Linked DNA regions of Homo sapiens: regions 2, 3 and 4 are each linked to region 1. The links are contacts of gene promoters, found by promoter capture Hi-C in blood cells and fetal thymus (Javierre and others, 2016). All regions are on one chromosome and are shown on one strand. The core of a region is centred on a gene start or on the middle of the fragment in contact, and the rest is flanking DNA. Distances in the headings are between cores, read along the strand shown. Region 1 holds the start of DCAF16 (DDB1 and CUL4 associated factor 16). Region 2 overlaps LOC105374510 (a long non-coding RNA gene). Region 3 overlaps LOC105374510 (a long non-coding RNA gene). Region 4 has its middle 360 kb from the start of LCORL.

Evidence for each region. Contacts are between HindIII fragments. The CHiCAGO score rates a contact against its expected background, and 5 or more counts as called.
Region 2: a fragment that was not itself captured here is called in contact with the fragment with the promoter of DCAF16 in region 1 in 6 of 17 cell types (naive CD4 T cells, total CD8 T cells, naive B cells and 3 more); the score reaches 7.6 in naive CD4 T cells.
Region 3: a fragment that was not itself captured here is called in contact with the fragment with the promoter of DCAF16 in region 1 in 1 of 17 cell types (endothelial precursors); the score reaches 5.5 in endothelial precursors.
Region 4: a fragment that was not itself captured here is called in contact with the fragment with the promoter of DCAF16 in region 1 in 1 of 17 cell types (M1 macrophages); the score reaches 6.9 in M1 macrophages.

The regions. Positions count from the first base shown.
Region 1 is chr4:17,809,240-17,812,574 of GRCh38, reverse strand. It overlaps DCAF16 (DDB1 and CUL4 associated factor 16), which reads left to right and starts at 1,818. Exons shown (of 3, transcript NM_017741.4): 1 at 1,818-2,128. It overlaps NCAPG (non-SMC condensin I complex subunit G), which reads right to left and starts at 1,596. Exons shown (of 21, transcript NM_022346.5): 1 at 1,387-1,596; 2 at 151-354. The coding sequence starts at 1,497. RefSeq lists enhancers at 1,125-1,637, 1,911-2,070, 1,638-2,149, 2,191-2,280. The HindIII fragment of the contact is 3,530 bases long and covers 560-3,335 here.
Region 2 is chr4:18,610,015-18,613,349 of GRCh38, reverse strand. The region is part of intron 1 of LOC105374510 (a long non-coding RNA gene); the gene reads right to left. Among named protein-coding and RNA genes, the nearest start is that of LCORL, 590 kb to the right of the region's middle. The HindIII fragment of the contact is 8,531 bases long and covers 1-3,335 here.
Region 3 is chr4:18,539,957-18,543,291 of GRCh38, reverse strand. All of the region lies in intron 1 of LOC105374510 (a long non-coding RNA gene), which reads right to left. Among named protein-coding and RNA genes, the nearest start is that of LCORL, 520 kb to the right of the region's middle. The HindIII fragment of the contact is 3,244 bases long and covers 198-3,335 here.
Region 4 is chr4:18,380,557-18,383,891 of GRCh38, reverse strand. No RefSeq gene overlaps it. Among named protein-coding and RNA genes, the nearest start is that of LCORL, 360 kb to the right of the region's middle. The HindIII fragment of the contact is 2,576 bases long and covers 376-2,951 here.

The DNA of each region.
Region 1 (3,335 bases), core at 569-3,068:
TAATTCTAATATTTCCTATGAAAGGTAGACTCATTCAGGTTTTTTCAATCACTAGATATTTCATTGTCAAAAACATACAAACTCCCACGACTCTTTTAAAGTGGCAAAATTTTCTAAAATCCCTCCCCAAAGCTATCATTTTCATAGTACCTTTAAGAGAAAAGTAAACAAATAATTTAAAAGGCCACCATCTTCCTCTTCCTCATCATCTTCCATATCTGATTGGTGAAATGAGGTAACAAACTTTGCTGCAAATTCTATTACCCTCTCCACAGCTGGTTCACGTTTATAGACCACCATAACATATTTAAGGTAATGAATGAACTCCTCATGAAAAACTGTCTTATCATCCATCTGAAAGACAAAAGAAACCCTTCATAAACTGCACCGATAAAAATCCTTTATTCCCAACATCACCCTAAGACTGATGAAAGCACTAGCCATAATAATGCAGACAAATTAAAATATTTATTTAGTAAACTCTTAATTATCCAAACCAGCCAAAGGGCAATCAATTTGCATGAATTTCTCTCCAGGCTATAATGGGAGTACACAAGCTTGACTTTTGACAGTGAAAAGATTCCTTTGATATATTTTTTTCAATATCTTTGATTCTCAATAAGCCTTTAGTACCAGTACGTTACAAATACGCTTCTTCAACAACCCAAAATCAATACTGGCTTTTATATTTCTCATATTCAGGCCTTCCTATCACCAGCAGTTTCTTTATGAGATAACTTGCACATCCTATCTCATATCCTCAAAGCCCTGTGATGTTTACTCACAATTTTTCTTGGACCTCAAGATAATTCATCTTCCCCAAATTAATTGTTCTATTCTTCTCAAGGTTCCACTCAAAACAAACAAATAGTATGTACATAAATAAGAATGGCCAGGCCCTAAAAATAATTTGGTATTTGGTGATTGGATTCAACGTAACCGTAGGACAAGGGTAGAATCATTTGATGTTCGGCGGGGAGCGATGACCCCAGGGGCAACGACCACTGAACCCCCGCATTCAGGATCCACTCTGCGGTTCAATATTTGATGTCTGATCGCCTCGGTGGTCGTAAATGTTTCTCTCCACGTTCACGATCGGACTAAGGAATAACGGTCCACGCCGCCCAGAAGCTGGGGGTGTCGGCTCAGAAAAGCCAAGGCGGGGCCCGTGTGAACGACGCCCAGGCTTCGGAGGCTTTCTGGCCTGGGCCCAGGCGACCTCGGGTAAGTCCCTGACTTCTCCGAACCTCAGATCCCTATGAAGTGAGTCGCGAAGGTGAACAAGGCTGGAGTCACGGTGCGCCGAGCCCGAGGGCCACGGAGGGCCCCTGAGGGAGGGTGGGCCGGGGCGGGCGAGAGGCGGCGGCCGGGGCCGGGAGCGCTTACCGTGCGGTAGGTGCGGCTCAGCGCCACCACCAGCTTCGCCTGGTTCTGGTGCGGCTGCTGCGCCAGCCGAAAGGCCTCCTTAATCGACAGCAGCCTCCTTTCCGCTCCCATGGCTCTGGAACCCTGCCGGGACGAGTCCTGCCCGCGCTCGGCTACAGCCTGCCAGCCCGCCAACCCAGAGGCAGCGCTCTCCGAGTAGTCTTCTATGACAGCCCCAGGGAGTATTTACCGCTCGAACGTTCAAATAATTCCCGCGAGAGGGGGAAATCCCGCGAGACTGCCGTAAGCGCTTTGGGAGAAGAGAGCGGGAAGCGATGGGTCCACCCACCTCGCACCCCGCGCTTTGGGCGCATGCGTCTAGGTTCAACCTTGTCCAGCCGTTTTCACGGAGGGAAGTGGCGTTTCTAAGGGGGAGGGGCCTTGACTCGGCCGGAAGTAGCGTCGGCGCGGGAGCTGAGCGGAGTGGCCTTGCCACCGGAGGGGAAGGGCTGCTGGCGTTAGGCCTGGCTGGGTCGTGCGGCTGAGCGTGAGGCTAGAAAGAAAAAGCGATCCTCCAAGAGTGAGAACGGGAGATCTGCCGAGGATAACAACCTCCCTTGTGGCCGAAGGGCGGGGGATCCCCACACGAGGGCTCCGCTTCGAGAGACGGCGACAAAGGAAAGTTCGTAGCGCGTTCCGGAGGCCCGGCCACCTCTGAGAAGGGAGACGACGCTGCTGGGTCCGCTGAGCGGGGCGACCCGAGGTTAGTGGAGACGGATGCTGTCTTTTGAAGGCCTTAGTCCCTGCCCTGGTGAAGCCGACTGCGAGGTTCCACAGGGCGTGCAGGCAGTCCGGGGATCGTTGCGAAGGGGGGTGCGGGCTAACTTAGCTGCTGCCGTTTCTAGATGTGCAGCTGTGTAGGCCCTGTTTACAAGTGTGCATAAGGACAGTGTATTAAGGGAGAACTCAAGAGAATGGAAAGGTCTTTCGGGTAGTGGTTAAAATAAAGAAGAGTAGGAACTAGGTTTTTAAATTTTAAATGAAATTATATCAGACAGAACTTCTGTTGGATCTCAGGATGCACCATCCAAAAATAGGACTGTAGGAGACCAAAATATGCCACCCTACAATATACTTCTAGAGTATATTTTGAGCTGGTATTCTGATAAAATGCAGACACAGGAGTCGCTCTGAAAATCTGTCCTGTTGTAAAAGAAATTGACATCTACAGAGGAAATATACATCAGTAAAGGATCTGTATCAGAAAGAGGGCAGCTCTGCGATAATTTTTGTTACCTGGGAGATCTTATCTGCATACCAAGACAACTTTTATTCACCGTATATTTCCTCCCCTCACCTTTCCACAACTTTGTGGCCACCATCCCCCAGAAAGCCGCAAGCCCCCATTTCTTGAGTAGCGTAGGATGCTGTATAATATTCAATCATCTGACCATGGTGGGACTCCTCTGCGTATGTAATTAAGTACGGGTTTTTTTTCTTGTTAATGTCTATGTCAGGTTAATTTGTAACCCAGCCAAAGAACCTAGGAGGATGGAGGGAAGCCGTTTTTCCCTCTCCTACACCTCAGTAACCTACTGCCAGCTGAAGAAATAGAACATTACTAAAGCCACCTGTACATCTTTCTCCTTTTGAATTACCTGCCCTCCGAAGAAGTAATGGATTTTCTGAATTTACTGTTAACTTTTACCATGCAGCTTTCTATATCTTAATGACATATTTTAATATATTAATGACATGAATAAATCCCTGAATGAGGATATTGTACTATTTTGCATGTTTTAACCGTTAAATGAATAATTATATGTGCATCTGGCTTTTTTCAATCAATATTGCTGTGGTTCATATTGATATGTTCATAATAGTAACTTGCACTTAATTAACCTTTATTATGTGCCAGACACCATGCTAAGCACTTTACTTCGTTTACTGCTCACAAACCCTGTAGGATA
Region 2 (3,335 bases), core at 587-3,086, 800 kb before region 1:
AAAGAGATTAGCATTGGGGCAGTTATTAGTAAGAATTTATGACTCCTTGTTTCTAGGATACTAAAACTAAAAGGCAATTACCTTGGACCAGGGGTCCCCAGCCCCTGGGCCATCGACCAGTACTGGTCCCTGGTCTGTTAGGAACTGGGCCGCACGGCAGGAAGAGAGTGGTGGACAAGCCAGCATTACCACCTGAGCTCTTCCTCCTGTCAGATCAGCAGCGGCATTAGATTCTCATAGGAGCACAAATTCTATTATGAACTGCCCTTGTGAGGAATCTAGGTTGCATGCTCCTTATGAGAATCTAACTGATGCCTGATTTTCTGAGGCAGAACAGTTTCAACCTGAAACCATCCCTTCCCCCAACCCTCATCTGTGGAAAAATTGTCTTCCACAAAACTGGTCCCCGGTGCCAGAAAGTTTGGGGACTGCTGCATTAGATGATACATGCAAAACATTTAGCATGGTGTTAGGTACACAGAGAGCATGTCATAAATCCCGGGCAGTAGCAGAGCAGAAGTAGAAACAGCAGCAGGGGTGGTAAGAGTGGTCATGGAGGTGATGATAGCAATGGTAGTGTTCCACAGACGTCCTTCCTCCCTTTCTTCCTTCCTCCCTCCCTCCCTCCCTTTCTTCCTTCCTCCCTCCCTCCCTTCCTTCTTTCCTTCCTTCCTCCCTCTCTGCCTTTCTCCTTCCTCCTTTCCTTCCTCCCTCCCTGCCTTTCTCCTTCCTTCCTTCCTCCCCCCTCCTTCCTTCCTCCCCCCTCCTTCCTTCCTCCCTCCCTTCCTTCCTTCCTCCCCCCTCCTTCCTCCCTCCCTCCCTTCCTTCCTTCTTTCCTTCCTTCCTCCCTCCCTGCCTTTCTCCTTCCTTCCTTCCTCCCCCCTCCTTCCTTCCTCCCTCCCTTCCTTCCTTCCTCCCCCCTCCTTCCTTCCTCCCTCCCTTCCTTCCTTTCTCCCCCCTTCCTTCCTCCCTCCTTCCCTTCCTTCCTGCCTTCCTTTCCTTCCTTCCTCCCTCCCTTTCACCTTCCTTCCTTCCTTCCTCCCTTTCTCCTTCCTTCCTCCCTCCCTCCCTTCCTTCCTCCCCCCTCCTTCCTTCCTCCCCCCTCCTTCCTTCCTCCCCCCTCCTTCCTTCCTCCCTCCCTTCCTTCCTTCCTCCCCCCTCCTTCCTTCCTCCCTCCCTTCCTTCCTTTCTCCCCCCTTCCTTCCTCCCTCCTTCCCTTCCTTCCTGCCTTCCTTTCCTTCCTTCCTCCCTCCCTTTCACCTTCCTTCCTTCCTTCCTCCCTTTCTCCTTCCTTCCTCCCTCCCTCCCTTCCTTCCTCCCCCCTCCTTCCTTCCTCCCCCCTCCTTCCTTCCTCCCCCCTCCTTCCTTCCTCCCTCCCTTCCTTCCTTCCTCCCCCCTCCTTCCTTCCTCCCTCCCTTCCTTCCTTTCTCCCCCCTTCCTTCCTCCCTCCTTCCCTTCCTTCCTGCCTTCCTTTCCTTCCTTCCTCACTCCCTTTCACCTTCCTTCCTCCCTCCCTGCCTTTCTCCTTCCTTCCTTCCTCCCCCCTCCTTCCTTCCTCCCCCCTCCTTCCTTCCTCCCCCCTCCTTCCTTCCTCCCTCCCTTCCTTCCTTCCTCCCCCCTCCTTCCTTCCTCCCTCCCTTCCTTCCTTTCTCCCCCCTTCCTTCCTCCCTCCTTCCCTTCCTTCCTGCCTTCCTTTCCTTCCTTCCTCCCTCCCTTTCACCTTCCTTCCTTCCTTCCTCCCTTTCTCCTTCCTTCCTCCCTCCCTCCCTTCCTTCCTTCCCTCCTTGCTTCTTTCCTTCCTCCCTCCTCCATCCATCCCTTCCTCCCTCATTTTCTTCCTCCCTGCCTTCCTTCTAAAATCCTCACATATTTTTGTAATTTATTTTTAAGACTGTTTTTAAGCCATATATGCACTTAACAAATCAACAGTAACAAAACAACATAAACCAATTTTAATAAGGAAGCAAAACTCTTTTGCACACCCCAGTAAACACTACCAAGTCTGGTTACACAGTGGCATTCATTCTTAGCATTGTTTTTGGCTCTTCTGATAATTTTCCTCCTGACATTAAGTGACATGTTCATAACTCTATTTCTTGATTTATCATTTTTAGACCACAAATAATGACTCCACAATATGATGACTTAGCTCTTTTAAACTTCTGCTTTCTCCCTTCTCTTCCTTCTCAAGGTTAACATTCATATACTTTTCCCGTTCTTCAAATGGCCCCCTTTGTAATACTAAGTAATAGACCTATGCCTCCATTTCTGTTCCACTCACTTTCGACTGTATCTCTTGGTTTTCCACAATATGAAATGAAGATTTTTAGCAGCACTTCCTTTATTTAAAAGAAAAGACTCATCAGCTCCTCTGCTTCCATTCTTCCGTTATTTTTTTAGATGCACATTCACTTAACACGGCTACATTTTGTTCTGCCACTGCATTCGTGAATTCTAAGTGTTGTTTGTAAAATAACCCTAAAAGGGGTTGAGTGTGGTGGCTCACGCTGTAATCCCAGCACTTTGGGAGGCCGAGGCGGGTGGATCGCCTGAGATCAGGAGTTCGAGACCAGCCTGACCAACATGGTGAAACCCCGTCTCTACTAAAAATACAAAAATTAGCCAGGCGCGGTCATGGGAACCTCTAATTTCAGCTACTCGGTAGGCTGAGGCAGGAGAATTCTTTGAACCCAAGAGGCGGAGGTTGCAGTGAGCCAAGATCGGGCCATGGCACTCCAACCTGGGCAACAAGAGTGAAGTTCTGTCTCAAAAAAAAAAAAAAAAAAAAGATAATAATATAAAATAAATAAGTAAATAACTGTAAAAGGTGCAAAGCGATAAACAGTGTTTGATAATTATGGCTTGTTAAGGTCATGTTTGCTTTTCTATAGGTTCTATATTGGATTCCTGGAGCTATTACTGAGGGAGATTCTTCCATATTATTTGATGTGTCACTTCATGTATACATGACTTGGACAAACATTTGAGACAAATTAGGAAAAGTCAATATGCAGAGAAGGAGGGAAGTGGGAAGGAAGAGAAGCAAGAATACTCTGTGGATATGAAAATCCCTTCACCGCTGCTACTGCTTCTCACTCTGCGACTACTGCTAGCATTGCAGTCAATGCAGCCTGCTTTCCTATATTCGGTCGACTGCTGAAAATCAGCACGTGTGTTATTTTACTTTCTCTTTTAAATTTATTTTTTAAAATTCTAGTTACCTTTCTTTTATTCTTGTATTATTTGCCTTGATACTATTAATTAAATGTTATTTGCCTCACTTTTTTTCATCAATCTTTTAATCTCACTATCTAGGCTTATTCTACTATTTTTTA
Region 3 (3,335 bases), core at 570-3,069, 730 kb before region 1:
ACAGTATCACAACACAGTGCTACACAGAGACAGTTCCCCAACCTGGTGTCTGAAGGTTGGTAGTCAATCATAATCTTTCCTCCTAAAAATTAGAAGCAATTAGGAATAGACATGGGAGTCAGGTGGAGAAAAATACACTTGCTTTTGCTGAGAAAGGTGGTGAGATTCATGTGACTTGAACCCATGGACAACAAGCTTCCTATCTCTTTTCCCAACTGAATTTACCAAGTCTCAGTACTGTGTCTGGCCTCTTCTGCAGGGACAGAGAAGCCACCAAAGCAAAATAACTTTGGGGGCTGGGCAGGAAGAGAGAGAGATATAAACAGGAGCCACAATATTCTGGTTTAGACACTTGTAGCTCTATGATCTTAGACAAGTTGCTTATTCTCAGCCTTAGTCTCCTCATTCTTAAAGTGAGCATTCCTAGAATCAAATGAAATAATGCATGTAAGGTGCTTTGCACAGTACCTGGCACATAATGAGTATGCCATAAAAAGTAACTTCTGTTATCTGGAGTATTAATATTTTATTCCCACATTCAACCCACAGACCCTTAGGACAAAATCTTTCCCATTCCTTGGGCATTGAGGCCCTAAGGAAAGGGTCAGATGCAGATGACAGCTCCAATTCTGGGGCTGCTCCAGAGAAATGTTATTGAAATCACTTTGTCATGCAAAATTTAAGGAGCATCTACTTCCTAATAATCATAGAATTAGGCAGAAATAAAAGCTAGAATTTGGAATGACATTTTCTATAGAAATGATGATTGCAGTGTAGCAGGGGAGCGGAGGGGAGGGAGGTAGTTGTTTCTCTATCTCAGTTGCTAACATTGTTCATGTAGCAAAGTATCAAGCTCCAAACAGCCAATAAGCAAATAAAATTTGAAGGCCAGGGAGTATCTCATGTTCACAGAATATGACAAAACAAACAGAATTATACATTTCAACATGCCATTAAAACTAATATTGTGGTTCACTTCTTTTTTATCCATATTATAATGGAAGTTTCAAAATCTCTAGGTTATGAAAGTAGTTCCCAAGTCTTTCCGAGCCCTCAGGAAGGGAATAAACTCTTCTTTCAGGTCATTCATCTTTCCTTAAGTCAGTAAACCAGACAGAGGGTCACAGCACAAAATGACCCCCACATACTATTTTTTATGAAACTACTTTTGAATTATTAATGGTTGGTCTGCACCAAAATCTTCAAGACAAAGATAAAACATAAAATACAAAGTCTCTGTCTTCAGAAAAGTCATTAACCTTTGCAAAGATCATATTTAAATACAGTTTTTAACATTTAGCTTCTACTTAACAGCCATGTATTTCCTTTTCCATTGTGGCAAATTTAAATGTATTAGATTATGGTCTCTTTCTGCTATGTTTCATATAAGTAGAAGAGCATAGGTAATGTGAAAATACTGGGATTGCAGTAATCGAAAAACTAACAATTAGCACTGAAAAAATTTATAATGCAGCTACATCTTTCTAAACTTCAAAAGCTATATTTCAGAAGAGTGTATCTACATGTCAAGCTAATGCATTCAGTAGTAAAATCAAGATGGCCAACTTAATAGGTTTGGTAGTTATATGGTAACCTAATCACAAGTCAAACTTCTGGAAATCCTGTTAATTTGTTCATTTATTTACTCATTCATTACAGAAGAATTTACTGAGCACCAACAATGTGCCAATTGTTTGAGAAACAGAGTGATAAAAGCAAAGAAGTCCTCTCCTAATCTAGTAGTTAAACATAATTGTGACTCCAAAAGTGAATTTCAGAATTCTAGTAAACAGAACAACTAGCACTTTTTACCTTGTATGAGTCATTCAATCTACATGTAGATACTATTAGCTCAGATTTTACTGAAATCTATGTTAAGCATAATTGTCTAGTTTTCTAATCCTTAGCACATTTTAGGCAGACAATTAGAAGTTCCCACTATTGTTCAAAAATGTATAACCAATAACAGTACTTGCTACAGTTCATTAAATTCTTGTTTCTTGTTAAGAATGATTATCAGTTTTATGTATTTTAACATGTTTAATCTTCACAGCAATCATATGAGGTTGGTATCATTCTTATATCCATTTTCAGATGACAAAACTATGACACTGAGCGGTTTCAGTAACTTGCTAAGCTCACTCTTCTAGTAAGAAGCAGAGAAGAGACTGGAACACAGAGAATCTGACATTGGAAGCCATGGTTTTGAACACTGCAGCACACTCACTTTCTAATAAAGGATGCTCCCTTGACATACCATTCTTTTCCTGTTTTGACAATTTTTGGTAGATGCATTGGATTACCTTATAAAATTATAGGTTATTTGGGTGGTAATTGTTGTGTCAAGTTTTCCATAAAATGGGAAGCACCCTGAGTTCATACACAAAGACCAAATGGAGCGAAGTCATTGCTTAATGTATTAAAGTAGCCTTTCTTTGTCCTGATAGCAAACTGTAGTTCTTTATAAAAATAACTGGCATAGGAGAAGAAGCAGGGATAAACTTTAGGCCAGACTTTCCTGTTGAAATTATCGTTGGGTGAGAAAAACACCCAACTTATCTTACTCAATGTATTAGGCCGTTCTCGCATTCCTATAAAGAGCTACCTGACACAGCATAATTTATATAGAAAAGATAATTAACTGGTTCACAGTTCCACAGGCTGCACAGGAAGCATGGCTGGGGAGGCCTCAGGAAACTTGCAATCGTGATGGAATGTGAAGGGGAAGCAGATCTGTCCTCCATGGACGGAGCAGGAGGAAGAGAGAGACGGGGAAGGTGCTACACACTTTTGAACAACCAGATCTCATGAGAACTCATTATCAGGAGAACAGCAAGGGGGAGGTTCGCCCTCCATGATCCAATCACCTCCCACCAGGCCCCTCCTCCAACACTGGGGATCACAATTCCACATGAGATTGGGTGGGGTATAAATCCAAACTATAACACTCATCAATAGGAAATTCACTCCCATTCAAATATTATTTTATATTGAGGCAGAACTAAGATAAATCAAATGATTTTGAATGTCTCTGCTCCAGAAAAAGTTGTTAAGAGAAAAAGCACTTGGCTATGCAAACTTTTTTGTGCAGACCTGGGTCATCTGAATCATCAATATTTGTGTGAGGCAACATGGAAACACACTAAACTTAGAGCCAAAAAAAAGTAGATAAGAGCTTTTGCATCACAACTCAATAATTTTCTGATCTTAAAAAATGTGACTAAGTTGTTATGATCCTCATTTTGTCTGTAAATTGGGATACTCTCTACTAAGCATACAGAAGTATTATTAAGAGAACAAAATGGCATGATGGATGTGAAAGTGCTTTATGAACT
Region 4 (3,335 bases), core at 414-2,913, 570 kb before region 1:
ACTCTGCCCCTCAAATTCTAGCTACCTCTTTAACTCTGAACAACAACCTTTGTCTCCTCAACTCAGTAAGGCCACTGATCCTGTTTCAATTTTTCCTTTTAAAGAGTAAACTGAGACAATCATAGGGCTTACCATTTCTATTTCCCTTCTCCTATGCATCACAGTCTTGTATTGCCTATTGTCCAATGCCTGGCAATTATTAGTTCATATACTTTTCTCAGTTACATCTGGTTATGGCATGAGGGAAATTTCTGTAGCAGTTTATCCTTCATGAGGAGAAACAGAAAACTCTAGGAGTTGAGTTCTAAACAGTCAATAAGAAGAAAGGAAAATATATCAAGTGATGTAAGAGTATCAGCCAGCACCTTCCAAGCTTACAACTGGCTGAAACACTGTGACCAAAGGTGGCAGGTAATCATTTACATGATTAGGTAAACACCTTTAGCCCAATATTATTTCAATTTAATACCTTAATATTTAACTCATGCCCTTTTGCCCATGATATAAAAATAAAGTACTATCAAGACTGATAACAATATTTTCTTTTGAATTAACTAATTTTGGGAAGCAGACTTTAGTAGACAATCTAGAGGAATTTTTTAAATTTTAATAAATATAATCTGCATACAGAAAGGTGCACATCACATTTGTACAGCTTAATATATTTCCAAAAACTGACCACACATGTTGCCAGCACCAGGTTGAGAAACAGTACGTTATGTGCATCCCAGAAGCCCCCATTCATTAACCTTTCCCACTTTTTCATCTCCTCCCACAGCAGTATCCATAATCGTGACTTCCAATAATATAGACTAGTTTTTCCTGATTTTGCATTTTCTAAATTCATAAGGATGTATTCTTTTCTCTTTGCTGTGGGTAGTTGCAGATCCAACATCCTCATTGCTGAATAATTTTCCATGGTGAGAATGCAACACAAATTTATTTATTCATTCTACTCTTGGTGGCAATGTAGGTATTATCCAATTGAGAGTTATTACAAATAATGCTGCTATAAACATTCTTGTGTATATCTTTTGATGTACATATATATGCATTTCTGTTGGGCATTTATCTAAGTGTGGAATTACTAGTCCTAAATTATTCACATTTTCAGCTGTAGGAGATATTGCCACCTGATTTTACCAAGATGCTTATTGTATAGGCCACTTTTAAAACCCAGCAGTATGTTTTAAACAGCAGAGGAGCAACTTAAGGCCAGTATCCCTGGGATGTAACAGATCAGTGTCAACAAGTAAAATCAAACTTCTATTTCCAAAGCTCAAGTCCAGGTATTATTTCCTTTAGGTCATTTAAAACCCATGATGAGAATTAGTAATTATATAAGTTAAAAAAAATTTTTTAAATCTAAAACAGTACAGTTTATTAAAGGTTGTTCTATCTTTCTTTGTAGTCACCAAATCGTTTTAATCTAAGTTTTTTTGTGTGTGTGCAAACCTTTTACATATAAAACCTATAAAAGCCGGGGAACTCTGGAGACAGCAATTTTTGGAACCACAGGGCTCTGAAGAACTCAGCTTGAAAACACTGCTATGGTCTATTTTCTTCTGTTTCAAATGAGAGAACTCTGGCCCAAGGAGGAAAAAAGAAATGCCTTCATGAGGGTCACACAGTAAGATAGTGAAAAGGGAAAGGATTAGATTCCAACATCCCCCATCCTCCTGTTCAGCAAACTTGCCTTATCCTGTTCAACTGGATCCTAATTTGGACTCAGCCACTGAGATAATCAGGTTCTTGCCGAATTCAAAACAAGTATAAATAGATTTTCCGAGGCTCATTTCTACTTGACAACCTTCAATTGGCTATTTTCTCTCAAAGTTGCTTAACATACATAGAGCAATGTATTTTCCTACTAAGAAAATGAACCCACTCCACCCGTGAGAAAGAGGAATCACAAAAGCTACAACATGCCACTGCTGGTTCAAAGCAAAACTTGTTTATTAAATACTGAATAAAAATGGTTATGAACAAAATTTATGACCTCCTAACATCTACCAGAAAATAAGCAATGTGTAAATACACTCTCCCAGTGTGTCAATCTGCTGCCAACTAGCAGTAGAAAAAGATTGAACTTCTGAATCTTACTCAAATTTTTTTCAAAGTGTTGAGAAAATGCAGTTTGAATTTCATCCAAACAATTGACTTTAGGTCTGATTTCTGAAGACCTAGAAATCTTGCACATCAAATAACACTTTTAAAATTTTGCAAAGACTCAAATGAAGCTGAATTCAATTTTTCCCTAAAGAACATATGGACTTTCAAAAAGGCAAGGGAGGAGGTGGTTGGCAAAATATGTTTTCAGTTTTAACACTTTTTTTAAAACAAAATAAAATAAAAATCATTGCTGGATTTCCCCAGCCCCATTCCCCAAAATTACCATTTTTCCTGTCATTGACCTATGACTGTTAAAGATATTCTGATTATTTTATATAAAATAATCATTCTTTATGCTAACAGTGCTTGAGCAGTTGCAAGGAGTTGGCAGGCAAGGCAAGTGTCAGTTTTGAACAAACCCATGAAGTCAACAGTTCCTTGTACATCAGCTGAAATAAAGACTATTTCCAGAAACCAATGGGGATAATTCTGGGTTAAACATCGATATTTCAATTCCAAACCTCATTAGACAACATGGATTTAATGAAAAGACAAAAATGGAAGAAGAAAGACAGAAAAAAACAAAGGAAAAGGAAGTGGAAGCAGAGAAGAAATTTTAGAACTATTACATCAAAAATCAGTGCATTATTGAGTAGAATATTGGTTCTTCAGGCTCCAGCATGAGAAAGATTCAGTTTTGTTTTTGAACCAAGTATATTGACGTGTTTTACTGAGCGTATATACACACGGAATTCAAGTGACCCAATCCCTTGGGTCAAGTGAACCAGAATTTCATTTTCCAAAGAGTTTTTAAAATAATTCTGTCTCTGTCATAAGCTTAGCACACATTTAGCACAATCTCATCAGTGTTTTGGAGAAAAGAATTAGATCACTAGATCAGTATCCTACCCCCAGGTACCTAACAGGGTATTATGCACGTGACAGAAAATTGAAGGTGTCTAAGTAAGTTAGAGAAGGAGGAAGGCAAGTCCTTTTACCTCAGCTGGAATGAGGGAGGTGAGACCAAGGCTGCCTCATTATAAAGGGGGCTTATAATTTTTGTGACCCAGCCCCCACCTTACTCTCTAGTCCCACATTTATCCTAGCTGTACCCCTTCATTGGTCCCCACTCTACCTAACTGAAATCCAGACACACAGAACCCCTTTTGTCTCCCTAAACACGTTGTGCTATTTTACACACCTGATTCTGGGAGATGTCATTT